Regions from separate parts of the Homo sapiens genome. Here all the other regions are linked to region 4. The links are contacts of gene promoters, found by promoter capture Hi-C in blood cells and fetal thymus (Javierre and others, 2016). All regions are on one chromosome and are shown on one strand. Each heading gives the region's core, a stretch centred on a gene start or on the middle of the fragment in contact. The rest is flanking DNA. Distances are from core to core; before and after follow the strand shown.

What was found. The method cuts DNA at HindIII sites, captures the fragments that hold promoters and counts their contacts. A CHiCAGO score of 5 or more calls a contact.
Region 1: a fragment that was not itself captured here is called in contact with the fragment with the promoter of MYO1C in region 4 in 1 of 17 cell types (activated CD4 T cells); the score reaches 5.1 in activated CD4 T cells.
Region 2: a fragment that was not itself captured here is called in contact with the fragment with the promoter of MYO1C in region 4 in 1 of 17 cell types (endothelial precursors); the score reaches 5.6 in endothelial precursors.
Region 3: a contact is called between a fragment that was not itself captured here and the fragment with the promoter of MYO1C in region 4, in 1 of 17 cell types (endothelial precursors). The highest score is 6.9, in endothelial precursors.
Region 5: a contact is called between a fragment that was not itself captured here and the fragment with the promoter of MYO1C in region 4, in 14 of 17 cell types (activated CD4 T cells, endothelial precursors, total B cells and 11 more). The highest score is 10.5, in activated CD4 T cells.
Region 6: the fragment with the promoter of PRPF8 here is called in contact with the fragment with the promoter of MYO1C in region 4 in 1 of 17 cell types (neutrophils); the score reaches 7.3 in neutrophils.
Region 7: a fragment that was not itself captured here is called in contact with the fragment with the promoter of MYO1C in region 4 in 5 of 17 cell types (endothelial precursors, naive B cells, M1 macrophages and 2 more); the score reaches 8.6 in endothelial precursors.

What each region holds. Positions count from the first base shown.
Region 1 is chr17:1,296,596-1,300,218 of GRCh38, forward strand. It overlaps TRARG1 (trafficking regulator of GLUT4 (SLC2A4) 1 (gene/pseudogene)), which reads left to right. Exons shown (of 3, transcript NM_172367.3): 3 at 1,656-3,623. The coding sequence ends at 1,669. Among named protein-coding and RNA genes, the nearest start is that of TRARG1, 19 kb to the left of the region's middle. RefSeq lists an enhancer at 2,213-2,807. The HindIII fragment of the contact is 2,052 bases long and covers 514-2,565 here.
Region 2 is chr17:1,267,390-1,270,942 of GRCh38, forward strand. It overlaps BHLHA9 (basic helix-loop-helix family member a9), which reads left to right and starts at 3,055. Exons shown (of 1, transcript NM_001164405.2): 1 at 3,055-3,553. The coding sequence starts at 3,175. RefSeq lists enhancers at 246-1,049, 1,050-1,852, 3,457-3,553 and a silencer at 911-1,140. The HindIII fragment of the contact is 2,719 bases long and covers 186-2,904 here.
Region 3 is chr17:1,250,172-1,253,994 of GRCh38, forward strand. No RefSeq gene overlaps it. Among named protein-coding and RNA genes, the nearest start is that of BHLHA9, 18 kb to the right of the region's middle. The HindIII fragment of the contact is 4,133 bases long and covers 339-3,823 here.
Region 4 is chr17:1,490,597-1,494,178 of GRCh38, forward strand. It overlaps MYO1C (myosin IC), which reads right to left and starts at 2,090. Exons shown (of 32, transcript NM_001080779.2): 1 at 1,817-2,090. The coding sequence starts at 1,891. It overlaps LOC105371483 (a long non-coding RNA gene), which reads left to right and starts at 2,191. Exons shown (of 2, transcript XR_934145.4): 1 at 2,191-3,029; 2 at 3,354-3,582. RefSeq lists an enhancer at 422-1,141 and silencers at 426-865, 946-1,345. The HindIII fragment of the contact is 5,990 bases long and covers 1,818-3,582 here.
Region 5 is chr17:1,342,455-1,346,062 of GRCh38, forward strand. It overlaps YWHAE (tyrosine 3-monooxygenase/tryptophan 5-monooxygenase activation protein epsilon), which reads right to left. Exons shown (of 6, transcript NM_006761.5): 6 at 1,821-3,045. The coding sequence ends at 2,993. Among named protein-coding and RNA genes, the nearest start is that of YWHAE, 56 kb to the right of the region's middle. The HindIII fragment of the contact is 491 bases long and covers 1,110-1,600 here.
Region 6 is chr17:1,683,062-1,687,115 of GRCh38, forward strand. It overlaps PRPF8 (pre-mRNA processing factor 8), which reads right to left and starts at 1,806. Exons shown (of 43, transcript NM_006445.4): 1 at 1,719-1,806; 2 at 1,411-1,521; 3 at 472-640. The coding sequence starts at 1,510. The HindIII fragment of the contact is 11,873 bases long and covers 1-4,054 here.
Region 7 is chr17:1,315,114-1,319,217 of GRCh38, forward strand. No RefSeq gene overlaps it. Among named protein-coding and RNA genes, the nearest start is that of TRARG1, 38 kb to the left of the region's middle. The HindIII fragment of the contact is 189 bases long and covers 1,753-1,941 here.

The DNA.
Region 1 (3,623 bases), core at 290-2,789, 190 kb before region 4:
CCACCTCCCAGGTTCAAGTGATTCTCCTGTCTCAGCCTCTCGAGTAGCTGGGCTTACAGGTGCCCACCACCGCACCCAGCTGATTTTGTATTTTTAGTAGAGATGGGGTTTCATCATATCAGTCAGGCTGGTCTCAAACTCCTGACTTCAGGTGATCCTCCCGCCTCAGCCTCCCAAAGTGCTGGGATTACAGGCGCCTGCCACCACGCCCGGCTAAGTTTGTATTTTTAGTAGAGATGGGGTTGCATCACGTTGGCCAGGCTGGTCTCGAACTCCCGACCTCAGGTGATCCACCAGCCTCGGCCTCCTAAAGTGCTGGGATGACAGGCATGAGCCACCGCGCCTGGCCCAGGGGAACCATTTTCAAAGGTGACTCTCTGCTGTTCAAGAAACCCATGCAGCTTGGTGAGGTGACTTTGGGGGGTCATCCGGGTCTGAACTGCCGATTTTCTTCCTTTCATACACGTACATCAGGAAGTCCCCAAGGATCTCTGCCCATTTCAATGAACCCTAAGCTTTTCCCCTAAAGACCTCGCTGCTCAAACTGTGCTCCCTGGACCTGTGACGGGATTATCGAGGAATGTGTCAGAAACGCAGAACTCCAGGCTCCATCCCTGAACCGGATTGGAATCTGGACTTTAATAAGACTCCCAGCCCAACCGTCAACGTTGGGAGGCACTGGTCTAGAGTGTGGGGTGCCCAACTTGAGCTTGGGACCGAAAGCCTGGGGTTCAGCTGTGGGGCCGCCAGCAACCTTGGCCACTTAGGAGAGGGAAGCGTTCGGGTTTGGAATCAGCGTGCCCAGCTTCAGAATCCAGGTCCCACACTTTCTCACTGTGTGAATTGGAGCGTGTGTGACAGTTTCCTCCATGAGTGAGTCTGATTGACATGCAGGTACATGCAAGGCAGGAGCCCACCAGCCCAGGACATTAGCCTCCGTCTCACCAAATGACGCCTTGGTCTCCATCCTGCTGCTGCTTGTTATTTTAGCCAGGACTTTTTTTTTTTTTTTTTTTTTTTTTTCCCCAGACAGAGTCTTGCTCTGTCGCCCAGGCTAGAGTGCAATGGCACAATCTCGGCTCACTGCAACCTCTGTCTCCCAGGTTCAAGCGAATCTCCTGCCTCAGCCTCCTGAGTAGCTGGGAATACAGGCACGTGCCACCACGCCCGGTTAATTTTTGTTATTTGTAGTAGCGATAGGGTTTCACCACGTTGGTCAGGCTGGCCTCGAACTCCTGACCTCAGGTGATCTGCCCGCCTCTGCCTCCCAAAGTGCTGGGATGACAGGCGTGAGCTGCCGCAGCCGACCAGAGTGGTGCACATTTTAATCAGTCCAGTAACTAAGCAGGGAAAGAAGTCTCAACAGTTAGATAGCAAAAGTCTCAGGACTGATTCAGATTGGCTCAGCTAGGGTTGCATGCCCACCTCTGACCCAGTGCCACCTGAGCCAGTCACTGAGGCCACAGTCCTCTTACTGGCAGGAGTTCAGTTACTCCAAGAGCTCCAAACCAAAGAGGTTCCCAAGCCTTAGCCTTCTCCCCTTATCCCTATTACCACTTCCCACTGGGAACCAGAAACCCAAATCCTCCAGTCAGGGACTTGAAGAGCCAGTGTTCTGAGCCCTGTTCTGCCATATCTGTTTTTTTTCTTTACAGTTCAGAAGAAATAAACTTAAGCAGGGAGCTGGGCTAGCAGAGGCCGGCCCTGGCCATCGGGAGAGCTCTGACCTGCACACCGCGGGAGGCCAGGGTGCTGACTGTCAAGCATCCCCTGTCCCCAAGTTCCAAAAGCACAGACTCAAAGGGAAACCCCCCAGTCACCCACTGTCAGCCCCCATCTGACAAGAAAGCCTGGAGCGAGGAAGGAAAGCACAGCGAACCCAATGGGTAACGTGGTTTACTCTCCCGGACGCGTCCTGGGATCTCAACCCCAGCAGTCTGGCTTGTTTCTCATTCCCACAATTTCCTGGGTTCCACCAAGCAGCGAAAACTGCCAGGATGAATGAGGAAAAAACCCAGCCCCACAAACGAGACACACGCTGGCGGGGAGAGACGCAGCAGAGCTCCTTCCTGTCTGTGGACTCGGAGCAAAGACGTGGGGCCCCATCTTTTGTGTTTTCCTCAAGCGGGGAAAGAATGGACTGTTTGCATGCTTCGTGCCACACGCCCGCGGTGATCCCAGCCAGGGCCCCGAGCGCAGAGGCGGAGCTGTGCTCAGCACAGGCCTGGGACCTCCCCCGGCAGGCACCTGTGGGGGGTGCAGCTCCCGGGAAGGAGGCAACTGCCTCACTTAACATCCTCCGCTGCAAGGTGGTGGCGCCGAGAGGCGTGTCTGTGAAGACAGGTACCAGGATGGCAGGACCCGCACGCCTCTTCCCACACCTGTCAGCTTCGGAAGCATCTCTCGAGGACTCTGGTCCCAGGATGTCTCCCAGGACAAGCCAGTCTGCCTCTTCCTCCTACTTCTGCTGTAGCCTGGGACCAGACCTGGCCAAGGTCAGCCAGCGGGGAGGGCCGAGGTCTGAGCTCTCGTCCTGCCGTGGCCCCCGCGATGGCCTGGGGTGCAAGCTTGGGGCTCCGTCTGGTGCTGCTTAGGTAGTTTCAGGCTTCCAGCCCAGCCCTATGCTCTGTGCTTGGCCCTGGGCCCCTGGCCATCCACAAACAGCAGAGGCCTTCCCTGGAGGAGGCTTTGGGACCACCCCTGGGGGGACTTCCCAAAGGGTCCCAGGCTGTCAGGGGCGTTTGCGCCACCTGCAAGGGCGTGGGTCAGAGAGTTTTTATGGGGGTCTGTTGTTTGACCGTCCTGAGACCGAGGGAAGGGCTCAGCTGAAGGACCCCGTCTGCAGGAGAGTCGGGGGACCAGGTTTGGGAATACACTTGCATGTACAGAGCCTGGGGCCTGGACGCCACGGCCTCTCATCTTAGGACCTAATGGGACCCCCGAAAGGAGCCAAGTGGGGCCCTCGGCCTCTTCCTTCGTTCCAGGCCCATGATTTTCCCTACACTTCTCCCTGGCCCAGGCTCCAGCCACAGGCACCTCTCCTGCCCCCGCCCACCCTCCTGACCGCAGCTCCCAGGCCCTGGAGACCTCCAGGCTTTCCTGCCCTGGGCAGCCCCACCTCACAGCCAGAGTCAATGCCTTCATGGGAAGGGCTCCCAGCCACACCCAGAGTGGCCCAAAGCTGTTGAAGTCAGCATCCTTTGTCCCATCAGGACCCTCCTGCCTCCTCTCCAGGCCCTTGTTCGCCTCCCCACCCTCCTCAGAGGCCCGGGGAAGGGAAGAGCAGGTCAGTACAGAGGTTCTGTCTACAGGGAGGGGCCCTGGGTCTATGCACAGCTGGAGCTCTGAGCCTTCCACAGCCCGTGTGACTGCTAGAGGGCAGGGGTGCAGGGCTCAGGGGGCCCGGGCTGGTCCTTTGGGGCTGGTGTTCCTACGTCAGTCCCCACCTGGGGAATAAACTCCAGCCTCTCCTGCTCATACAGAAGGGACTGGTTGGGTTTGCTTTATGGGATCTTTGAGACCAAAACAGATGCTCCTGTTTGCTGGGGGAGGGTGTGAGCACGGAGTATTTCTGTCCCTCGTGAAGTCACGTCACACAGGGGAGAGGCGAGGTCGATGGAACT
Region 2 (3,553 bases), core at 295-2,794, 220 kb before region 4:
CTCTCACCACTGCCTGCATAGCTCAGGCCCCCCCTTCCTCCAGGATCCTTGCTTCCTAAGTGGAATTTGTCTTAACATCCATTCTCCACACTGCTCAAAGAGCTCTAGCTGTAATTCAAATACGGCTGACATTCCTCTGCTTAATAACCTTTTGCAGTACCCAGCTGCCTACAGGGCGAAAAGCAAGCTTTTGGGACGACGCCTGGTGATCTCCAGCCTTATCTCCCGTCACTCCCTGGCCTCACATTTGGTGGTTTGGCAAAGTCACTTTCCTGTATTTTTCGCATCATCCTGTGACCGCTTACACTTCCAGGGCCTGGCACCTGCTGTTCCCTCTACCTCCTGTCTGCTTGGCAAACTGCTATTCATCCTTTGAAATCCAGTTCAGGGCCGGGAGCGGTGGCTCACGTCTGTAATCCCAGCACTTTGGGTGGCCGAGGCGGGCGGATCACTTAAGGCCGGGAGTTCGAGACCATCCTGGCCAACATGGTGAAACCCCGTCTCTGGTAAAAATACAAAAAATAGCTGGGCACGATGGTGGGTGCCTGTAATCCCACGTACTCGGGAGGCTGAGGCAGGAGAATCGCTTGAACCCGAGAGGTGGAGCTTGCAGTGAGCCAAGATTGCGACACTGCGGTCCAGCCTGGGCGACAGAGCGAGACTCGGTCTCAAAAAAAAAAAAGTTTTTGTTGAATGAGCGCATGAAGGGGCAGAGGCTGCAATTGCGCCCCTACGTCTTCCACACCGGGCGTGTGGGTTGAAACGCCAGGGTCTCGCCTGGGAGAGAAGGAGGCTCAGGGCTTCCCGGGACCCGCTCTCCGGAGGGGGTGGGGTCGAGGCCCCCGTGAGCGGCTCCCGGACTTTCTCTCCCGGGCGGGCGTTCCGTCCTCCCTCGGGGAGCGGCGCCGGAACTTCCGGAGGAAGAGCCGGAACTTTTGAAGCCCAGGCCCCGCCCGGCGCTAATAGGCACCTACGCGGCCGCCGGCGGAACCGCCAGACCCTAAATCACGGCGCCCCGCCCGCCCCCGCCCGCCCCCGCCCGGGCCGAGAACTCGCGCTCCCGGGCACGGGCAGGTGCCGCGGAAATGCCGGGCCCGCCGCTCGCTTTGAAGTCGGCCGCGCCCCGCAGCGCCCGGGAGTCCCGGGTTCCAGGAGGGGGCGCCTCTCCCGGGTCCTCGGGGTTCTTCGCGTGGGGCCGTTTCCTGACGTGCGCGGGGAAGGGCGGGAGCGGCCGGGAAACGCCACCGGGAAACGCGCGCTGCGTGGGCATTTTCTTTGCTTTTACTGACCTTTTTTTTTTTTCTGGTTTATTTTTTGTTGTTTTTGAGACGGAGTCTCGCTCTGTCCGCCAGGCTGGAGCGCAGTGGCGGGATCTCGGCTCACTGCAACCTCCGCCTCCCTGGTTCAAGCGATTCTCTGCCTCAGCCTCCCGAGTAGCTGGGACTACAGGCTCCCCGCCACCACGTCCAGCTAATTGTTGTATTTTAGTAGAGACGGGGTTTCACCGTGTTGGCCAGGCTGGTCTTGAACTCCTGACCTCAAGTGATCCGCCCACCTCGGCCTCCCAAAGTACTGGGATTACAGGCGTGAGCCACTGCGCCCGGCCTCTAGCTGTTTTATAATTCGACATATATTGCAGATTTGGGGGACATAGAACCTGGGAAATACAGATGTCCTTAGGATGCTTTCATCCTAGTGGGCAAGGCAGACAATCACAGAAGTAAATACATACACTCTGCTTCCTAATGCCTTATTATTTTCTTTTATGGAGAAATTCACAGTTTGAAATAATGGGGTTATTGGCAATGCTCTTTTGGCGAGATGGATGTGAACCACACACCCATTCCAATGCCATAGGCCTTGGCATCTTAGAGGCATTTGGATTGTGACTGGGAATGAGTGGCCTTCAGGCGCTCCAAATAACTCAGCTGTGGATGCCGGAAATTCTACTGGGGGTCTTTCTTTGGGAATAAACATCATCTTTTTTCTGAGACCCTCTTTCAAATGCAAATCCCTGGGGGAAGAGGACAGAGGCTGCTCATTGAGTTCATAACCTGGCAGGGCTGTGTCACAAGATGGGGCTGCCCGAGGGCTCTGGACCCCAAAGATGCCCCTGATGTGGACCCAGGGCTGCAAAGGGATCTTCCCCGTCACCCTCTGCTGCTGACTCATCCCAGCTCTGCCTGCAGAAGGGGAGTCAAAGGGCAGTGGAGGGAGAGTCAGGCCCAACCAAAACCCGAACCCCAATTGCAGCCAGCCGCCCTCCATAGCTGAAAAAGCCGGAAGCTCTGGGTCAGCTTTACCTGCAGGGCCCTGCGCCTCCCATATGAGTCCTGCCGGGACACTCATGCTTTTCCTCAGTGACATCTCTGTGGTTGCCCACGGGACTTGACAAGAACTTTCAAGGTTTTGTTGTTGTTTTTGTTGTTGTTTTTCTGAGACGGAGTCTCGTTCTGTCTCCCAGGCTAGAGTGCAGTGGTGCGATCTCGGCTCACTGCAACCTCCAGCTCCTGGGCTCAAGCCATTCTCCTGCCTCAGCCTCCCGAGTAACTGGGATTACAGGCGCCTGCCACCACGCCCGGCTAATTTTTGTGTTTTTAGTAGACGGGGTTTTATATACTCTGTTGGCCAGGCTGGTCTCGAACTCCTGAACTCAAGTGATCCGCCCGCCTCGGCCTCCCAAACTGCTGGGATGACAGGCGTGAGCCCCAGTGCCCGGCCCTCTGCCTCTTTTTATTCCTATCAGCTCTCCTGCTAGAAGCCAAACTTAGCACCTTATCTGGGAATGGGGAGGAAGAATGTGGAACCCAGACACCCCACAGCGGCCCCAGAGCTAGGCAGGGCAAGGTCCCCGGGGCAGCGTGGCCGGGCTGCCCGTCTGGTCCCCGCTTACAAGAACCTGCAAGCTTCCCTCCTTGCTTTCCTTCTTCCCCTCGGTTCCTCCCCCGCCGACCTACCTGGAGGCCGATAATAAAGCAGGAGGAGGGAGATGGATGGACGGGAGGGCGGGGCGCCGCGTGGTGCCATAAAGCCCAGCTGGAAGGGGCCTGTCTCGGGAGTGTCCAGCCCCAGGAGCCGGGGACCGTCCGCGTCGCGAGCCGGGCCAAGGCAGTGGGCAGAGGGCAGAGGGCAGAGGGCCGGGGCTGGGGCAGAGGGCGAGTGCCCGGGAAGGCCATGCTGCGGGGCGCGCCAGGACTAGGCCTCACGGCGCGGAAGGGGGCCGAGGACTCTGCGGAGGACTTGGGGGGCCCCTGCCCCGAGCCCGGGGGCGATTCGGGGGTGCTGGGGGCGAACGGCGCTTCCTGCAGCCGGGGCGAGGCGGAGGAGCCGGCGGGCAGGAGGCGCGCGCGGCCGGTGCGGTCCAAGGCGCGGCGCATGGCCGCCAACGTGCGGGAGCGCAAGCGCATCCTAGACTACAACGAGGCCTTCAACGCGCTGCGCCGGGCGCTGCGGCACGACCTGGGCGGCAAGAGGCTCTCCAAGATCGCCACGCTGCGCAGGGCCATCCACCGCATCGCCGCGCTCTCCCTGGTCCTGCGCGCCAGCCCCGCGC
Region 3 (3,823 bases), core at 1,155-3,654, 240 kb before region 4:
CCCTTGCTGGGGGCTGTGGAGGGAAGATCATGGGGACCCTTGCTGGGGGCTGTGGAGGGAAGATCATGGGGACCCTTGCTGGGGGCTGTGGAGGGAAGATCATGGGGACCCTTGCTGGGTGCTGTGGAGGGAAGATCATGGGGACCCTTGCTGGGGGCTGTGGAGGGGAAGAAAAGTCACGTGAACGACAGACGGAATTCCATTCCCTCCAGTGCACACAGCTGCCGCTGCAGCAATTATGTGCTTAAAAAATAACAAAACATGTAGTTGGAGTAGATTTTCAATAACATGAAATTACAAAAATTAAATTTTTGGTTTTTGTTGTTACTGGAGTAAAAAGCTTTAATGCCTTTTCTTGTATTTATTTCTTGCTCTAGCCTTTTTCAGAGACCAAAATTTGCGTGTGGAATCACTTCCCAAACATGTATTCTGCCATCAGAGATCCAGAGCAATGAATCTAAGTTGCTTCAGGCTATCATGATAACCCTTTCTCTCATCCCCAAAGCTCATCGATAAAATTTGACATTTGCTCATCAGAAAACAATTCCCGATTCTGCGCTTCTTATCTGTGCTGTTCTCCCCCACAGGCAGAGGGTTGTACATCTTTGATTACTCCTAGAGTGGAGTAAATGGGATTGTTAAGCATAAGGATGAAGGCAAGATGGGGAGGCGGAGCATCAGATCCACACTCAGGTTTTGCAAAATCAAAACAAACAAACAATTCCCCAATAACAACAGAAGCCTCTAACTCTTTTTTTTTTTTTTTTTTTAAGACAGGGTCTCGCTCTGTCTCCCAGGCTGGGTGCAGTGGCGCCATCTCGGCTCACTGCAAGCTCCGCCTTCCAGGTTCACCCCATTCTCCTGCCTCCGCCTCCCGAGTAGCTGGGACTACAGGCGTCCGCCACCACGCCGGGCTAATTTTTTGTATATTTAGTAGACACAGAGTTTCACTGTGTTAGCCAGGATGGTCTCGATCTCCTGACCTCGTGATCCAGCTGTCTCGGCCTCCCAAAGTGCTGGGATTACAGGTGTGAGTCACCACGCCTGGCCAGAAGCCCCTAACTCTTTTAGAACAACGTGCTATTTATTAATAGGCTATTTTCTCATCTCCCCTTCTGGGAAAGCTCACTCAGAAAAACCCTTAACACACAACCAGAAAGCCTCTGGTTACAAGTGACCTTTGCAAAGTGTCCTGTTTTCAAAGGAAGGGGCTTCAAAATAAGAGAAGATGGAAGACATCTGAATTGGAACTCACCCCCGCACCCCAACCCTGGGGAAGAGGGTGGGGATCAAGATCACTGCCGGCCAGGCACCATGGCTCACGCCTGTAATCCCAGCACTTTGGGAGGCCGAGACAGGTGGATCACGAGGTCAAGAGTTCGAGACCAGCCTGGCCAACATGTTGAAACCCCATCTCTACTAGAAATACAAAAATTAGCCGGGAGTGGGTGCACGCTGTAGTCCCAGCTACTCGGGAGGCTGAGGCACGAGAATCACTTGAACCCGGGAGGCGGAGGTTGCAGTGAGCTGAGATCTCGCTGTTGCACTCCAGCCTGGGCGACAGAGCAAGACTCAAAAAAAAAAAAGAGAGAGAGAGAATATTAGCCTCTCCTTGTTCCTCCAAAAGGCAGAAACTAAACCCCCAGAGGCAAATCTACCAAGGCTGACCCACTCCCCACCACACTGCCCTGCTCCAACCCCACCGCCCCTCAACCATCCTCCCTACCTTCCAGGGGAATTAGGAACGGAGCAGAACTCCATGGCAGCCAGTCTTGGTTACCCACTGATTTAATCTCTGATTCCCGCCGTGAGGAGAAAGAATATGAATTACTATAAACCCATCTGTTCCCTTTCTTTCTAAAAAGACAAGGACCCGGGGCTGGGTAATAATACTGTTGGCATTACGGGAGGTCTCTAGCTCACTGGTGTCTCCCTCCCCCCTTCCCCCAACAGCGCATAATTTGAAGATTTTCTTTAAAAAAAAAAATGACTTTAACGCCCCCAACTAATGTTTTCCTAACAGTAATAATTATAAATTCCAAACAAAAACTTAGCGGCGTGTGTGTGTGTGTGTGTCTCTTCCAGGCTTTTCATTTCAATAGATCTGCTAATTAAAAGCTATAATTTAACAAATAATGACCTAACCATCTCACTTTGAAATCAAACAAAAACCTACCACTAAAATGTGGGACTAGATACAGATAATGAATCCGGGTGCAATTCACACTCCTGCTGGGCCCAGGCTGGCCCCCTTCCAGCAACGGGCCTACGCCTGTGATTAGCAGAAATAGCTTTTCCAGCCATTTGGAGCAAACAGGGAGGATAAGTGAGCAATTTATGAGTCTAACAGTCGTTTTGGACCCACGCCCACTGCTGAAGGAGCAGGATGGAGCATTTATCCCTCCCCTGCCCTCGTTCATTGACACTTGGTCAATTTCATTTTCTCCCCGGCCCTCTTTGGCCCCTGGGGGAGAGAGTTATTTCTTTTTTTTCTTTTTTTTGAGATGGAGTCTCGCTCTGTCGCCCAGGCTGGAGTGCAGTGGTGCAATCTCCGCTCACTGCAAGCTCCGCCTCCCGGGTTCAAGCCATTCTCCTGCCTCAGCCTCCCGAGTAGCTGGAACTACAGGGGCCCGTCACCACCCCTGGCTAATTTTTTGTATTTTTAGTAGAGACGGGATTTCACCGTGTTAGCCAGGATGGTCTCAATCTCCTGACCTCGTGATCTGCCCACTTTGGCCTCCCAAAGTGCTGGGATTACAGGCGTGAGCCACCGCGCCCGGCCCCTAAAGTTATTTCTTAATAACAAGCCGGAAGGATTTGTGAAAAGGAAAACTAGTAATGAAACCAGGTGAAGATGCCCACTGAATCCAGCATCCTAAATGTTTAATAAAATAATAAACGATGGGCTGGGTGCAGTGGCTCACGCCTGTAATCCCAGCACTTTGGGAGGCTGAGATAGAAGGATCACCTGAGGTTGGGAGTTTGAGACCAGCCTGGCCAACATGGTGAAATGCCGTCTCTACTAAAAATACAAAAATTAGGCTGGCATGTTGGAGGGCGCCTGTAATCCCAGATACTCGGGAGGCTGAGGCAGGAGAATGGCTATTTTTTTTTTTTTTTTTTTTTTTTTGAGATGGAATCTCACTCTGTCGCCCAGGCTGGAGTGCAATGGTGCAATCTCGGCTCACTGCAACCTCCGCCTCCCAGGTTCAAGCGATTCTCCTGCCTCAGCCTCCCGAGTAGCTGGGACTACAGGCGCCCCCCACCAAGCCTGGCTAATTTTTTGAATTTTTAGTAGAGACGGGGTTTCAGCGTGTTGGTCAGACTGGTCTCGAACCCCTGACCTCGTGATCCGCCCGCCTCGGCCTCCCAAAGTGCTGGGATTACAGGCTTGAGCCAGCGCGCCCGGCCGAGAATCGCTTGAACCCGGGAGGCGGAGGTTGCAGTGAGCCGAGATCGTGCCATTGCACTCTAGCCTGGCGACAGAGCAAGACTCTGTCTCAAAAAAAATTTTTTTAATGTAAAAAATAATGCAATGATAAAAAACAATGAAAGCAAGATTGTTTCCCACCTACCACGCCCCTTCCCTGAGCTGGGAATTGGGCACCTGTGCCAGGTTAAACATAGCCCGCTGTTCTGGAACCTTCCCCGCAGCCCCAGCTCACACCAGTCCGCTGAGAGGCTGCCCAGCTGCTGTACAGGAAATGCTCACGCTCCGTGGGAGGAGCCTTCAAACACTCACCCCTTCCTGGAGTCCCGGCGGGACGGGAGAACTGGGGACTCTGCGAAAGCGCTGCGGAGCGTCCAAGAGCTCCCCGTGGAG
Region 4 (3,582 bases), core at 840-3,339:
CCTCCTACCAATCCATTTCCTCTGGGGCAACACAAATCAAATCAACACCTCATGTTCATAGAGTGAAGGTTTAGGACACCCTCCATATGCCAGGCCCATGATTCACACTCACTGCTGCTTACCAGGACCCTGCCTATGAACTCCCGAGACCCCCCTGCTGTCCCCAGTTTACCCCACTGCTCCTGCATTCCGATGTGCCAGATGGCCCGCTCCAGTCCCCTCTCCCCCCACCCCTCCCCCCAGGAGGGGGCCTTCGCACCGTCGCCAGCCAGTCCAAGCTTCAGTGCCTGCACCTGCGGCTTCCCCAGCCCGGGGCACTCTCCCTGCCCACCTCACTGAGACTCGGCTCAGGTGTCACCTCCTCCAGAACCCCTTCCTGATTCTCCCAAACACGCAGCGCCTCCTTATCGCACCCCGCAGGAATCAGCTGTTTCCTTGTCAGTCCCTCCCAGGAGACGGCTCCCACTCCCTACACGCAGCGAGGCACACGGTGGGGCTCAGTCACCCCTTCCCGGACCCCTGGATGAATGAATGAATCTCAGAGCCAGGCGTGTGCGCGGGAGGCCGGAGCGTGAGGACTGAGGGCCGCGTGGCCATCCTCCTTCTCCGGCCACCCCGGAGCCCCCCGCCCGTCACACTCGGGGCGCGCTGGGCCCCAGGGGCGGAGAACGGGAAGGGGCGGGTTTAGGCGGCTTCTCCGGAACCCAGAGGCGGAGCAGGGCTGCGGGCGGGGCCCGAAGGGCGCGCAGGGTCCTGGGTCCTGCAGCCCAGGCCGCTCTTCCCCGCCTCCCGCTCCCCGCAGGTAAATCTAAGTCTCCACCAGGCTGCGCCGGCGCCTCCGGGTCGTGGGACCCCCCCCCCCCGCACGGGTCCACGCGGCCGTTCTTCGGCCCCAGCGATCCCCGGCCGTGACCCCTGCCTCGTGCACGGCGGCTCCCGGCCCGGCCGCCCGCTCCCCACACCCGCCCCCCGCGGCCGCCGTCCCCGCGCCCCGAGTACCCACCGGCGTGGCTCTTCCGGCGCGGGCGGGGCCGGGCTGGGCGGCGTGGCGGGCTTGGGGATCCGCGGCCCGGGCGCACTCTCCCCGCCCAGGGCCCGCCGGGGGCCGGGCCGCAGCCTGTCGTCATCCCGGGCAGGGCCGCGCACCCTCCGGCCCCGCCCCGCCCCGCCTCAGCCCCGGCCGCGTCCGCGAAGCCTCGGTGCGTGCGGCCCCCGCCTCGGCCCGTTCCCGGGGCCACAGCGAACACGCGCGCGCCCCTCCGGCCGAAGACCCGGCTCCCCGCCGCGCTGCTGGGGGCGTGGGGGCGCCCGACTTTCTCCCTCCTCCGGGCCCTTTGCATCTCCAGCCCCTTCCTGCGGGCCGGGCCAGGGCCGCGCTCCCCCGTTTCTACCCACCCGTGACCCTTCACCCACCTCCCACACCGTCCTTCTGTTCTGAGTCTTGGGCGGTCCCAGCCCTGCGGACTGGAGAGGAGCGGGGCGTTGACTGAGCCTGGAGCTTCCATGCCCTGGTCCTTCGACCTCACAGCAGCCGGCACTTGCCTTTTGTGCCCAGTATTCACGGTTCTGCCCACTGAGGTTCGGGAAGCCGGGGAAGAGTCAAGCCCAGACCTCCACTTCCAAAAATCCTGCTGCTAGTGGCCCTTGCATCCTTACTCTTCCACTCACCCCGTCTTGTTCAGTCTGTTCTGGCCCCGCCAAGGATCGGAACCCCTCCCCGCTGCTCAGCTCTTGCCCGAGGGCTCGCCTGAGAGGGGCTGCCCGGCCTTGGGGAGACGCTCCCACCCTCCTCCCAGCCCAGAGCATCCCAGCTTACAAGCTTGCAGGGCCTGTGGGGATGAACCACGCGGATGATCTCCCCGGTGGGTACCAGCTCCACTTGCAGCGCCATTCCGCCCTGCGGAGAGCCAGCGGCCTGGGCACCGCGGCCTGTGAGCAAGAGCTGCCTGCCCACTGGCGGGCTCCGACCACTCCGGGACCAGGAACCTACGGTCTAACGCCGGGATGGCCACTTGGTTCTGCTTCAACTGCAGCCCCAGGGGATGTGGCTGGTCCAGCTCCTCAGGACACGGCTGGAGCCGTCCAGGTCTGACTGGGAGGCCTCTTGGCCCGGATGGTTGGAGCAGGAAGAGGAGGGGCTGGGGATGGAGGAAATGCCTGTTGTCCCAGGTAACCAGAGGAGCCGATGCAGCCACCCATGGGGGACCCTGGGCTCCAGGTCAAAGGCTAGGACGCCTTTCCCCTTCCCCCCATCCCCACGGCAGCTCTATGGCTGGGCCCCTCCTCCTGCCCACTCTCTGGTACCACCTAGAGAGCACGGGGCCCACTCCCCAAACCAGACGGCATGCCCTCCCCTAGGCCAAGAGGACCCGTTAGTAGGCACTGGCTTTCCTGCACATCCCCTCAACGGGGCTGCCCCCCACAGCAGGTGAGCCCCCACCATGAGTTTGAGAGACCAGGGCTGCTGGGGCCTGGTCATGCAGGGCCCGGACAGGGGGCTGTCCCGCTGTGAGGAAGCTCTTGGCTTACCCTCCTCTGAGCCTCAGAGCTTGTGAGGTTAGTTCCTGGGTTCCCTGGGTGTGGGCAACCTCTAGCCCTGTTCATCCCTTGCGTTTCAACAGTACCCCCAGGTGACCCCCACCCCTGATGTTCCTGCTTTTCTATTTTTATTGTTGCTAAATCACAGCTGACACTTTCCTGGCCTGAGACTGAGCCCTCCAGTCTCCAGCCATTCCTTATAGGAAGTAAGAACAGGGAAGTGGATAGGGGAAACAGACCTTTCCAGAGGGAGAGGCTGGCATAGGAAGGGCTGAGTCCCGTGGGTGTGTGCTGGCACCGACAGCCCCATAGGCAGGGGCCTTCCCCCCGGCACCCTTCTCTCTCCCCACAGCTTCCCCCGCCCCGGAAAAGCTAGCAAGCCTTCCTTCCTTCCTCCGGGAAGCACATCTATCCAGAGCAGGCTCATCCCCGGCGGCCACACAATGGCCCTTATCAGCCGTGGAGCCAGGCGTAGACCCAGTGCACACCAGGTCTCACTTATTTCCTGTTTCCACCCAGTGGGTCGGGGTGGACCCAGAACGGCCATATCCTGACTGGGGCCCAGAGGACGGAGAGCACCCCCCATTCCCCTTTCCGCCTCTCAATCACTGCTGGGCTCACCCCTCCCACACAGGAGGCTGGGTGTGTGGCGACCTCAGTTCACCACGGGGGAGGTGAGCATGTGGGGGGACCCCTGGGGTCAAGCCCCGGGGCCGCATTAATCAGAACGGGGAGGCGGGTCTAGTGCGATACACTTTCTGCAATTGTTCTCCCACAGTAATCTTGAGAATAGGGACATCATCTGTATTTTACAGACTACTGAGACCGCTCTGCGGGTGGGTTCAGACCCCATTCCTGTTTCTGGTCCTGTGGGAAACCACAGGTGCCTGGAACTTTGAAGAGACTGTACCACTTCTCTGAGCCTTGGCTTTCCCATCTGCCCAATGAAGGGTGCCATGCAGTAACCCTCGTGATGGCTGTGCATGTGAGAAGGAACAGGTGGGCAAGTGAGGGCTTTGGAGGTCCCTAGGTATATGTGTTGGG
Region 5 (3,608 bases), core at 105-2,604, 150 kb before region 4:
AAGTTCATCCCCATCTTCCTATAGGACCGAAATTTAACTTTGCAGACGTGCTGTTCTGAGGACCCACCCGGAACAGAGCATGTACACAAACCCACTTACTGTCGCTTCTAACATTGTAGGAAGCCTTTGGGTTTTCCAAGGCAGCAAAGTACTGAGATTTGTAATTAAAAACACATATTAGCTACATTCAAGTTGTAACTAACTAAAAACTTCTACTTAAGTCGACTGATCCTCAAAGTAAGACTCAAATCAAAACCAGAAAAGTTTGGGGGCAATTCCCTTTCCAGCCCACAAATACAGGAACTGGGAGTGACACCGTCCTCACAGGGCTACGGCACCTTTCTGCAGCTTCCCTGGCTCCCTTTCAATTTTTTTTTTTTTTTTTTTTTTTTGAGACGGAGTTCTGCTCTTATTGCCCAGATTAGAGTGCAGTGGCGCGATCTTGGCTCACTGCAAGCTCCGCCTTCCAGTTTCCAGCGATTGTCCTGCCTCAGGCCTCCCAAGTCACTGGATGTTAATTACACCCAGCAAGGTCGCCCGCCACCACGCCTGGCTAATTTTTTTGTATTTTTAGTAGAGACAGGGTTTCCCCATGTTGTCCAGGCTGGTCTCTTAACTGCTGACCTCGTGATCCACCCACCACGGCCTCCGAAAGTGCTGGGATTACAGGCGTGAGCCACCGCACCCGGCCTTTCAATTTTTGATAAGGATCTTTCCTTTTTTTTTTTTTTGAGACAGTCTCACTCTGTCGCCCAGGCTGGAGTGCAGTAGCGTGATCTCGGCTCACTGCAACCTCTGCCTCCCGGGTTCAAGCGATTCTCCTGCCTCAGCCTCCCGAGTAGCTGGGAGTACAGGCGTGCGCCACCATGCCTGGCTAATTTTTTGTACTTTTAGTAGAGACGGAGTTTCACCGTGTTAGCCAGGATGGTCTCAATCTCCTGACCTCGTGATCCGCCCGCCTCGGCCTCTCAAATTGCAGGGATTACAGGTGTGAGCCACCGCACCCAGCCGAGTGGTTTCTTTAAACTCTGCAACAGACTTGACGAATTCCTTGGATTTTGACCTTTAAGTGTAGCAGGTGTGCTGGAAACAGAGCAAATCAACTTGAAAGCTTCTTGGAGGTTGCTCCAAACAGCAGCATATAATTATATTCAATGGTCTCCCTATCTCTCGGAAAAGCAACTCACAAAAACATGTTTATTCTCATTGCCAGCACTCACTAAACGCTACTAGGATATCGCTGATCTGTTCATTTCCTAAATCTCTGCTACTAACACTTTAAACCGAGAGTAAACTTGCAGTCTCAACATCCAATTTTAGAAGACAAGTGTGACGAGGAAGGATTTATCAACTGAAAAATGTTTACTGACACAGGGAATCTAGAAATGTACCTTCCAGATACATACAAATATTTAAGCAAAAACTGTTCCAAGGGTATTTCCTGCAGCACCTGCCCAAAAGGAGCAAACTGGTCTTAACAAAATCAGGTGTACATCAATGTTACGCAGTCAGAATGAGACACATCTGAATGCCTAACATAAAAAGATCTACAGTAACTAGGTATCTATACACATTGATGTATAAACTGTTTATGGAAAGAAGCTTCTTATACAGTGTTTCTGGAAAGGGAGACTGCTATCCTGCTGTCTATAATGTGTGTATGGATTACTAAGAAAGGATTGAGTAATTCTCCACTACTGCCACTAGCCTCTGGAGGAAGAGGGCACACAGTTTTTACCTCTAAGAATTATTATAAGACATTCAGCCTTATTTGGTTGTATGAAATACTATGCTAGAAAATGATCCATAATTACACCTTGTACTACTCATGTTGTACTTTAATGATTAAAATAAATACCATGTTGCTGCCTGGTCTGGAGGACAAGACACACCATCAACTGACTCAGTGTTCTTCACAACCAGACTACAGGCAATTTTTTTCCAAAACATACATCTTTGGGAAGCAAACAAATTATTTATGGAAGAAAAAAGGAGGAATGTTTCACATTCAGGCAAACATAATACTGTCAGTGTGTTTGGACTAGAGATTTTATTTTAGAAGTATAAAGGATGGAGGCGCGATATTTGGCATTTTTAATTTAGGTTTGTTTTATTTAAGTTTAATGTTAATTCCATGCTGTGTTTCAGTAAGAACAATACAGATTCTGTATCTGTGGCTCCAGTCAGATATCCAGTAGTACAAATTAGCTTCAAGTTACACATACTGAACAAAAGAGGTTGAGCGAGCGAAGGAGGGGAGGAGTGAGGGGAAGGAGGTAGGGGGAGGGGGAAGGAGAAGAAACAAAAGAATTGAACAGGCATGCAGGCTTTTCCATACCACCTTCAACGCTAACCTGCTTCAGTGGGAGAGTAAAGTAGGCAAGAATGAGCAGCCACGGATTGTTGAACTGTTACCAGCACCATGCTTTTCAGCAACATTTCAGCGGAGTTGGAAACATTTTTTACAGCAAAACCATTACAACGAAGTCCCTCCCCAAACCACCTTTAACCATCTCAAGCTAACACCCAATTACTTGCAAACACTGGTATAAAACACAGTTTAAACAATTAGAAAAATGAAAACTGATACCACTTATGCCTCTATAGTGTGATTAACCTCTCTCTTAGATGCTTGCATCACCTATAAGTCTAATGGCTTTCAAATGTAATTTCCATTTGCTAATGGTGATCTTGCCACATCTGGCACGGAGACGACACAGTAATGCTGAAAAAGCCTCTATGTAGTCCTGTTAGTGTCTTAAAGAACCTAAAAGCTGGGACCAGTAAAATCCACAGAAATTCACTCTTGCCTTTAAGAACTTTTGAAAACTGTTTAAAAAAAAAAAAAAAAAACCAACAGGGCAGGAACCTAAATTCTGAGACCAAATGTAAAAGTCAGATTTGGTGGTTCTCAGTGACAATGGGGAGTTTCCAAAGGGTGGGATGGGGAGGAGGGGGTGGTCAGAGATGGTTTCTCTTGTTGGCTTATGTCTCACTGATTTTCGTCTTCCACGTCCTGCAGCGCTTCTTTATTCTGCTCTTCACCTGTTAAAAAAGAAAAAAAGTCAATTATTTCGTATTGACTACATTAGGCTATGGCAGCCACAAACAAAGGTGTCATTCCAAGCATAAAGACTCTTCTACTTGCTACAATTGGTATTAAACGCAGGCAAAGGACTTCTATCATCCTTGACACCTGAGATGCCTAAGCCAAGAAGGGATTATGGTCCTGAAAGTATTTATTGGTCAACAGAATGAAAAAAACTGATGCGCAGTACAACTCAATGTTTTTACGCTAAATAAGCTCTTGACGTAGACAGCCAAGGAAACCATCTTACTAAAATGACATTCAAGCTTTCACATAAATCTTGGGTCAAAATACTCTTTCTCAATAACCTCACCTCTTCAAGAATCAAGAGTATTTTGCAAACTTTTTGCAAAATCTAATTTACCCACAAGCTAATTATCAGAAATGCTTCAAAATAGTTAACTGAGCAATAAACTGTTGCCAAGAAGTTCTATCGTATTTTATTGTGGGGTTCTGCTGTTATAAATATTTCAGCTTTTGTATCTTGGCCAGATACACCAAACTATAATCAGATTTTACT
Region 6 (4,054 bases), core at 556-3,055, 190 kb after region 4:
CTCGGCTCACTACAAGTTCCGCCTCCCAGGTTCACGCCATTCTCCTGCCTCAGCCTCCCAAGTAGCTGGGACTACAGACACCTGCCACCACGCCCAGCTAATTTTGTGTATTTTTAGTAGAGACGGGGTTTCACCGTGTTAGCCAGGATGGTCTCGATCTCCTGACCTCATGATCCACCCGCCTCGGCCTCCCAAAGTGCTGGGATTACAGGCATGAGCCACCGCGCCTGGCCAGGGACATCTTATAATATCATCAACAGGACAAATTAAAGCACCAGTCCCAGATCGGGAAGAGAGGGGAAACAGACTGCAAAAGTGGAAGATGTAGAAATTATCAGAGACTCCTACTGGTTTTCTCCTTTCTCTTATATCCACCAAGATGAGCTGTCAAAGCATCAATCCAAGACTGTGGGACAGGGAGAAGGGAAAAGGGCCAAATTCCAAATGAAATTATTTCAGGATGTTCCTTACCCCAAGTAAACCCTTTTGTCATGGCGGAACTTCCTGTTGGTCATGTCTCCATGGTCTCGAATGATCTTCCTGACATGTTCTGGGGGCATGTCTTCCTTCTGGGCATCCACAAACCCAAACTTCCGCTTTTCTGCATAGCGCTTGGCCTGCAATTGCTGCCATTTTCGAGCTGGAAAGGCACCTCAGTTTAAAGGCCTGCACACCCTCCCCCTAATCCTCTTCACCTCTTGCCCTAGGGTAAGCTCCTGTCAGTGAGTGTGAGGGAGAAGCAGGCACCAGCAGGAAGAAGCACCCCTTGCCAATTCCCTTACCATTTTACTCTGTTTTTCCTTTCATCACATTGATCACTATCTGACTTTTTTTTTTTTTTTTGAGAGGTTGTTTCACTCTGTCTCCCAGGCTGGAGTGCAATGGTGCGATGTCGGCTCACTGCAACCTCCGCCTCCTGGGTTCAAGCCATTCTCCTGCCTCAGCCTCCCCAGTAGCTGGGATTATAGACACGCGCCACCACACACGACTCATTTTTGTATTTTTCGTAGAGACGAGGTTTCACTGTGTTGGCCAGGCTGGTCTCGAACTCCTGACCTCAGGTGATCCGCCCGCCTGGGCCTCCCAAAGTGCTGGGATTACAACCGTGAGCCACCGCGCCCGGCCTGACATTTTTATTACAGAGCTTCAAGGTTTTGTTATTCTCTGTCTCTCCCGCTGTAATTTAAACCCCGTAAGGACAGGAATTTTGTCTCCGTCACTACTGTACCCCCGCTGGATCAGCGCTTGCAAATAATACGCGCTTAAAATGACTTGATGAAAAATTAACTGGAAATAACAAGGGAGCTGACACCTCAGGAGCTGCCCAAACGGGGAGGGTCCCCACCCGCCTGCGCGCGCGCACACCCGCCCCGCCTCCGGCCCGCGCGCCGCTCCACACTCTCGCCTCACCTTTCTCCTGCAGCTTCTCCTCCGACATGTAGTCCGGTAGCGGGGCTAGAGGGCCAGGCACCGGGTTACCCGGCCCTCGATAAGGAAACACTCCGGCCATATCCGGAGAATCTGGGGAGCGGCGGGATAGAAAAATTCACTAACCACAGGCCCGGGCCCACAAGAAGCGCAGCAGAAAGGCGTCCGGGGACCCCGGCCTGCAGTCCCGCCACACAGTGCATCCAGCCCCGCCCGGCCTAACCCCTTCGGTCACTCGGCCCGACCCGACCACGCCTCCCGCAGCCCGGCCTTAAACGCCTGCCACGCACCCCACAGGCCCTCACACAAGAGGCCGCTTTCCCCGCAGCGCAATGGCGGCCAGACTGCGTCCGCTCCGCGTTCCCAGCGCCGGGAAGTGCGCAACCCGAGTTCAGCAGTTGATCCAGTCGGCGCCGAGGTGCTCAGATGGATTAGTGAGACGACCAATTAGAGTTGCACACTGCGCCGAGGAGGCGGGCCCATAGGCGGAAAGGCTTTGAACGCAAGGGGGTGTGGTCGGGGTGAAGCCCCGCCTCCTCCATTTCCGAGGCTGTTTCTGGGGCCTCTGACAGACCTCAGCGTGTGATGGGCTCCCGGCGTCGCACTGTGAGAGAGCGAAGTCTAAAGGGTTTGAATAAATTTGCCAAGATTGCGCATTGTACGATGTCTGTTGTCATCAATGTGTACATGCAATGCAGTACTAGCTCCTGGACAGTCATTTGTTCATGCATTCATTCATTTAACCATCACTGTCTACCGAGGACGAGGGATAAAGCAGGAAAAAAGACAACCAGTAGAGTTCACAGGGGAGCAGAAAGGCAGGCAAGAATTAAGACCTTGGCCGGGCGCGGTGGCTCACGCCTGGAATCGCAGCACTTTGGGAGGCCGAGGCAGGCGGATCACTTAAAGCCAGAAGTTCGAGGCCAGCCTGGCCAACATGGTGAAACCCCGTCTCTACTAAAAATACAAACATTAGCCGGGCGTGGTGGCGGGCGCCTGTAGTCCCAGCTACTCGGGAGGCTGAGGCAGGAGAATCGCTTGACCCGGGAGGGGGAGGTTGCAGTGAGCCAAGATCGCGCCACTGCACTCCAGCCTGGGTGACAGAGCGAGACTCTGTCTCGGGGGAAAAAAAAAAGTCTGAAATTCTGTGGAGGGTGCAGAGGAATTGTAACCCATACAGCCCCTGAATCTAGTTGAGAATTTACAAATCAAAGTGAAATAATTAGAAAAAAATTCAAAGGATGTCAATGTGCTTTCAGAACGGTAAAAATTTAAAAAATATTCCTTTTGTTTTTTTGAGACAGGGTCTCACTCTGTTGCCCAGACTGGAGTGCAATGGCGCGATCTCAATTCATCACAACCTCCACCTCCCAGGATCAAGCAATTCTCCTGCCTCAGTCTCCAGAGTAGCTGGATTACAGGCACGCGCCACTACTGCCGGCTAAGTTTTGGATTTTTAGTAGAGACAGGGTTTCACTATGTTGGCCAGGCTGGTCTCAAACTCCTGACCTTACGAAATCCTCCTGCCTCGGCCCTCCCAAAGTGCTGGGATTACAGGCGTGAGCCCCCATGCCCGGCCTGAAATCTATTTTTTAATGCTGGGTGTTCTAAAGGTCCCTACAGTCAAAAAAGACAGAGGAGAATTGTTAAAGATTTGATGGAGATGGATGGATGTGAGGATTTCATAAAGGTAAATGGAGAGGAAGGAAAAAGGTAATCCCAAGTGGTAGAACTACTAGAAAGAGTTAAGAAAGAAGCCGGGCACCGTGACTCATACCTGTAATCCTAGCACGTTGGGAGGCAGCGGCGAGAGGATTGGTTAAACTCATGAGTTTAAGACTAGCCTGGGCAACATACTGAGACCCTCATCTCTACAAATAATAAAAATATTAACCAGGCATAGTGGTACATGCCTGTAGTCCCAGCTACTCGGGAGGCTGAGGTGGGAGGATCATGATGGCACCACTGCACTCCAGCCTGGGTGACAGAGCGAGGCTGGTTTCATAGAAAAAAAGTGGGGGTTTTGGTTTGTTTTTTGTTTTTTGAGGCAGAGTCTCACTCTGTTGCCAGGCTGGAGTGCAGTGTCACAATCTCGGCTCACTGCAACCTCTGCCTCCAGGATTCAAGCGATTCTCCTGCCTCAGCCTCCTGAGTAGCTGGGGTTACAGGCATGTGCCACCACACCCGGCTAATTTTGTATTTTTCGTAGAGATGGCGTTTCTCCATGTTTGTCAGGCTGGTCTCGAACTACTGAGCTCAAGTAATCTGCCTACCTCAGCCTCGCAAATTGCTGGGATTTCAGGCGTGAGCCACCGTGCCAGGCCAAAAAAGGTTTAGATATAGAAACTAACATGGCATGCTCTGAAAATAGGCACCATATCAATCTGGCTGTGCTAGAAAGTCCAACATCATCATTATCATCTTCATCATCATCATCGTCATGGTAGTGAAGTCCTTTCACCTGTGTAAGGTTCACTACGTGCCAGACATTGCTCTAAGCCCTGGTGAAATCCTACTATGGTCTGTAGTTTCATTAAGAGTATTGTGGCCGGGCGCGGTGGTTCACGCCTGTAATCCCAGCACTTTGGGAGGCCGAGGCTGGCGGATCACAAGGTCAGGAGATCGA
Region 7 (4,104 bases), core at 597-3,096, 180 kb before region 4:
CACCAAAACACCAGGCGGCCTGAGCTGCTGGAGGGGCTGGAAGCCCTGAGAAGCTCCCTCTCCCCGGCCGGGCACGGTGGCTCACGCCTGTAATCCCAGCACTTTGAGAGGCCGAGGCGGGCGGATCATGAGGTCAAGAAATCAAGACCATCCTGGCCAACATGGTGAAACCCCGTCTCTACTAAAAATATAAATATTAGCTGGGTGTGGTGGCACACGCCTGTAGTCCCAGCTATTCGGGAGGCTGAGACAGGGGGATCGCTTGAACCCGGGAGGTGGAGGTTGCAGTGAGCCGAGATCGCGCCATTGCACTCCAGCCTGGTGACAGAGTGAGACTCCATCTCAAAAAAAAAAAGCTTCCTCTCCCTCCAGGACAGAGCTCTCCAGAAAAGCCTCTCCCCCGCTGCCCTCCCCAGGCTCCCGTCTTCCTGACCTTTGCTTTGGATCTGGTTCTTGCTCTTGGCCCTCGCCCTGGAGCTGGATGCTTTGGTCGGGCTCTTGCCTCCAGCGTCTCCTTTGCTATCAGCCTGCCCTCCCATTGCCCCAGTTGGAGGCAGGGCTGCCAGCTCCAGCCTGGCCAGTGGGGAAAATGGATGCGTCTACCTCCTGGTTCCCTGCTGAGGTCAGAGGCCCTTTCCGACCTCCTAAGCCACTCAGGGGGCCCGTGGCTGTACAGGATATCCAGTGAACAGGCACCACGGATGCTGGAAAATCCAGGTAATGGGATTGAACCCGGATCTAAGAACGGGCCAGTGTGATTTGCTCTCACCCTTAAAACCAGACCCCACAGTCTTCCCAGAACTCATCCACCTGTTGGGTCTTTGGGAAGTCCCAGGGCACTGAGGTCTCAGGGTACAGAGGTCCCAGGCTTGGCTCCCTCTGGTTGTTAGCCCGTGCAGACATTCCAGGGTCTACAGACGCTCCCTGGAGAGGGGAACACGAGGTTCCAGGCAGGGCCCGGCTGCCCTCCCAGGGGAACCGAGCTGGAGGAACTCATGTTTTCATCATGGCCCGTGGGAGCCACTCATGGGCTGCTTAAACAGGCAGGAGGTAAACACACACCCCAGGCGACCAAGATCAGCGGCTCCCTGCACAGCGGGTTTAATTATAAGAGCAACATAATAGCGACAGGACAGAAAGGGGGGGAAATGGCAGGGAAAACCTCTCACCAGCCCACAGCCTCCACATTCCCACTGCCTGGCTGTGAACCTTCTCCCTCCTGGGTGACTTTGCCCAGGGGTGTGGAGTGGGTTTTTTCCTTTCTTAATTTCATTCCAATTGCAAAATTAATACAACGTCATTGCAGCAAACTTGGAAAATGCGAAAAGCCTGAAGAAGAAAACAACAATTTCTCTAAGTGGGTTTTTTTTTTTTTTTTGAGACGGAGTCTGGCTCTGTCACCCAGGCTGGAGCGCAGTGGCGCGATCCTGGCTCACTGCAACCTCCACCTCCCGGGTTCAAGTGATTCTCCTGCCTTAGCCTCCCAAGTAGCTGGAATTACAGGCACTCACCACTGGGCCCGGCTAATGTTTATATTTTTAGTAGAGATGGGGTTTCACCATGTTGGCCAGGCTGGTCTCGAACTCCTGGCCTCAAGTGATCCACCCTCCTCGGCCTCCCAAAGTGCTGGGATTACAGGCGTGAGCCGCCGCGCCCGGCCCCTGGGGTTGGTTTGTGCAGAAGCGAGAACCTGCTCAGGAGCTTGCAGCTGGTAAGAGTGGAATTAGAATGGGAACCAGATATAATAATAAAAGCTTCATCTTTTAGAAAAAGATCAAATCAGAAATATGGGTTACATTTGTAAAAGGCTTTCAATTAAAAAGAGGCTGTGAAGCACATCTTGGGAGGCCTAAAAGTCCTTTTCATTTGGATATTGTTTTATCAAAAGCCCTAGTTTGTGCTGATAAGAAAATGGATTTCACAAGATTGAATCTAACAAAAAGCTTTGGCTAGCTGATTAATTAGGTGAGTCACAGGTCTCCTGGGAGTTCAAAGTCAGGAGTTTAAAGACCCTATGAAAACACATAGGAAGCCGGGCTTGGTGGCTCATGCCTGTAATCCCAACACTTTGGGAGGCCAAAAAGGGTGGATCATGAGGTCAGGAGTTCGAGACCACCCTGGCCAACATAGTGAAACCCTGTCTCTACTAAAAATATAAAATTAGCCAGGCATGGTGGTGGGCACCTGTAATTCCAGTTACTCAGGAGGCTGAGGCAGGAAAATCGCTGGAACCCGGGAGGCGGAGGTTGCAATGAGCCGAGATCGCCCCACTGCACTCCAGCCTGGGCAAAAAGAGTGAAACTCCATTAAAAAAAAAAGAAAGAAAGAAAGAAAAAAGAAAAATGTAGTAATAGTTCACCAATCTCTCCATCACTTCAGATAAACTGGGCCAGGCACAGTGGCTCACACCTGTAATCCCAGAACTTTGGGAGGCCGAGGCAGGAGGATCACTTGAGCCTCAGAGTTTGAGACCAGCCTGGGGAACCCAGGGAGATCCCTTCTCTACAAAAAAATGCAAAAAAATATGAGCCAAGCATAGTGGTGCATACCGTAGTCCCAGCTACTTAGGAGTCTGAGGAGGGAGATTCATTTGAGTCCAGGAGTTGGAGGCTGCAGTGAGCCGTGATTGCGCCACTGCACTCCAGCCTGGGTGACAGAGCAAGACCCTGTCTCAAAAAATACATAAAAACATTAAAAGAATAAAAAATAAAGTTCAGACAGGCTAGGCACAGATGAATTAAATCCACAGTAAGTACTGTATTTTTATTTTCACCAAAAATGTCAATCTTATCCTCAGTGCTAATTTTCTGGGGGAAAACCACGAGCTACGCTGTTCTACTCTCAGAAGCTCCATTTTGCTCACATTCAGCTCTTTCTCTTTTTTTTTTTTTTTTTTTTTTGAGACAGATTCTCACTCTGTTGCCCAGGCTGCAGTGCAGTGGCGCGATCACTGCTCACTGCAACCTCCGCCTCCCGGGTTCAAGCGATTCTCCTGTCTCAGCCTCCCAAGTAGCTGGGATTACAGGTGCCCACCACCACACCCAGCTAATTTTTGTATTTTTAGTAGAGACAGGGTTTCACCATATTGTACAAGCTGGTCTCGAACTCCTCTTGACCTCAGGTGATCCACCTCCCTTGGCCTCCCAAAGTGCTGGGATTACAGGCATGAGCCACTGCGCCTGGCCTCAGCTCACATTTATTGAACATCTACTATGTGCCACTTACTTTCACATACATTTCATTTGACCCATGACAACCTATTTTATTTATGTATTTATTTATTGAAATGGAGTTTCGCTTTTCTTGGCCAGGCTGGAGTGCCACGGGTCGATCTAGGCTCACTGCAACCCCCACCTCCCAGAGTCAAGTGATTCTCCTGCCTCAGCCTCCCAAGTAGCTGGGATTACAGGCATGAGCCACCACGCCCCGCTAATTTCTTGTATTTTTAGTATAGACGGGGTTTCGCCAGGTTGGTCAGGCTGGTCTCGAACTCCCGACCTCAGCTGATTGGCCCGCCTCGGCCTCCCAAAGTGCTGGGATTATAGGCATGAGCCGCCTCGCCCAGCCCACCTTTTGGCTATTGTAAATATAATACTGCTGTGAACATGGGCTTGCAAAGATCTTTTTGAGATCCCGCTTTCAATTCTTCTGGGCATATACCCAGAAGCGGAACTGCTGGATCACATGGTAATTCTATTTTTAACTTTTTGAGGACTTGCCTTACTGTTTTCCATAGTGACTGCACTATTGTGCATTCCAACCGACGGTGCACAGGGGTTCTAGTGCCTCAGCATCCTCACCAGCACTTATTTATTTATTTATTTATTTATTTATTTATTTATTTATTTATTGAGATGGAGTCCCACTCTGTCGCCCAGGCTGGAGTGCAGTGGTGCAATCTCAGCTCACTGCAACCTCCTCCTCCCCAGATTCAAGTGATTCCCCTGCCTCAGCCTCCCGAGTAGTTGGCATTACAGCCGTCCGCCACGACGCCTGGCTGATTTTTGTACCTTTAGTAGAGACGGGGTCTCACCATGTTGGCCAGGCTGGTCTTGAACTCCTGACCTCTAGTGATCCGCCTGCTTTGGCCTCCCAAAGTGCTGG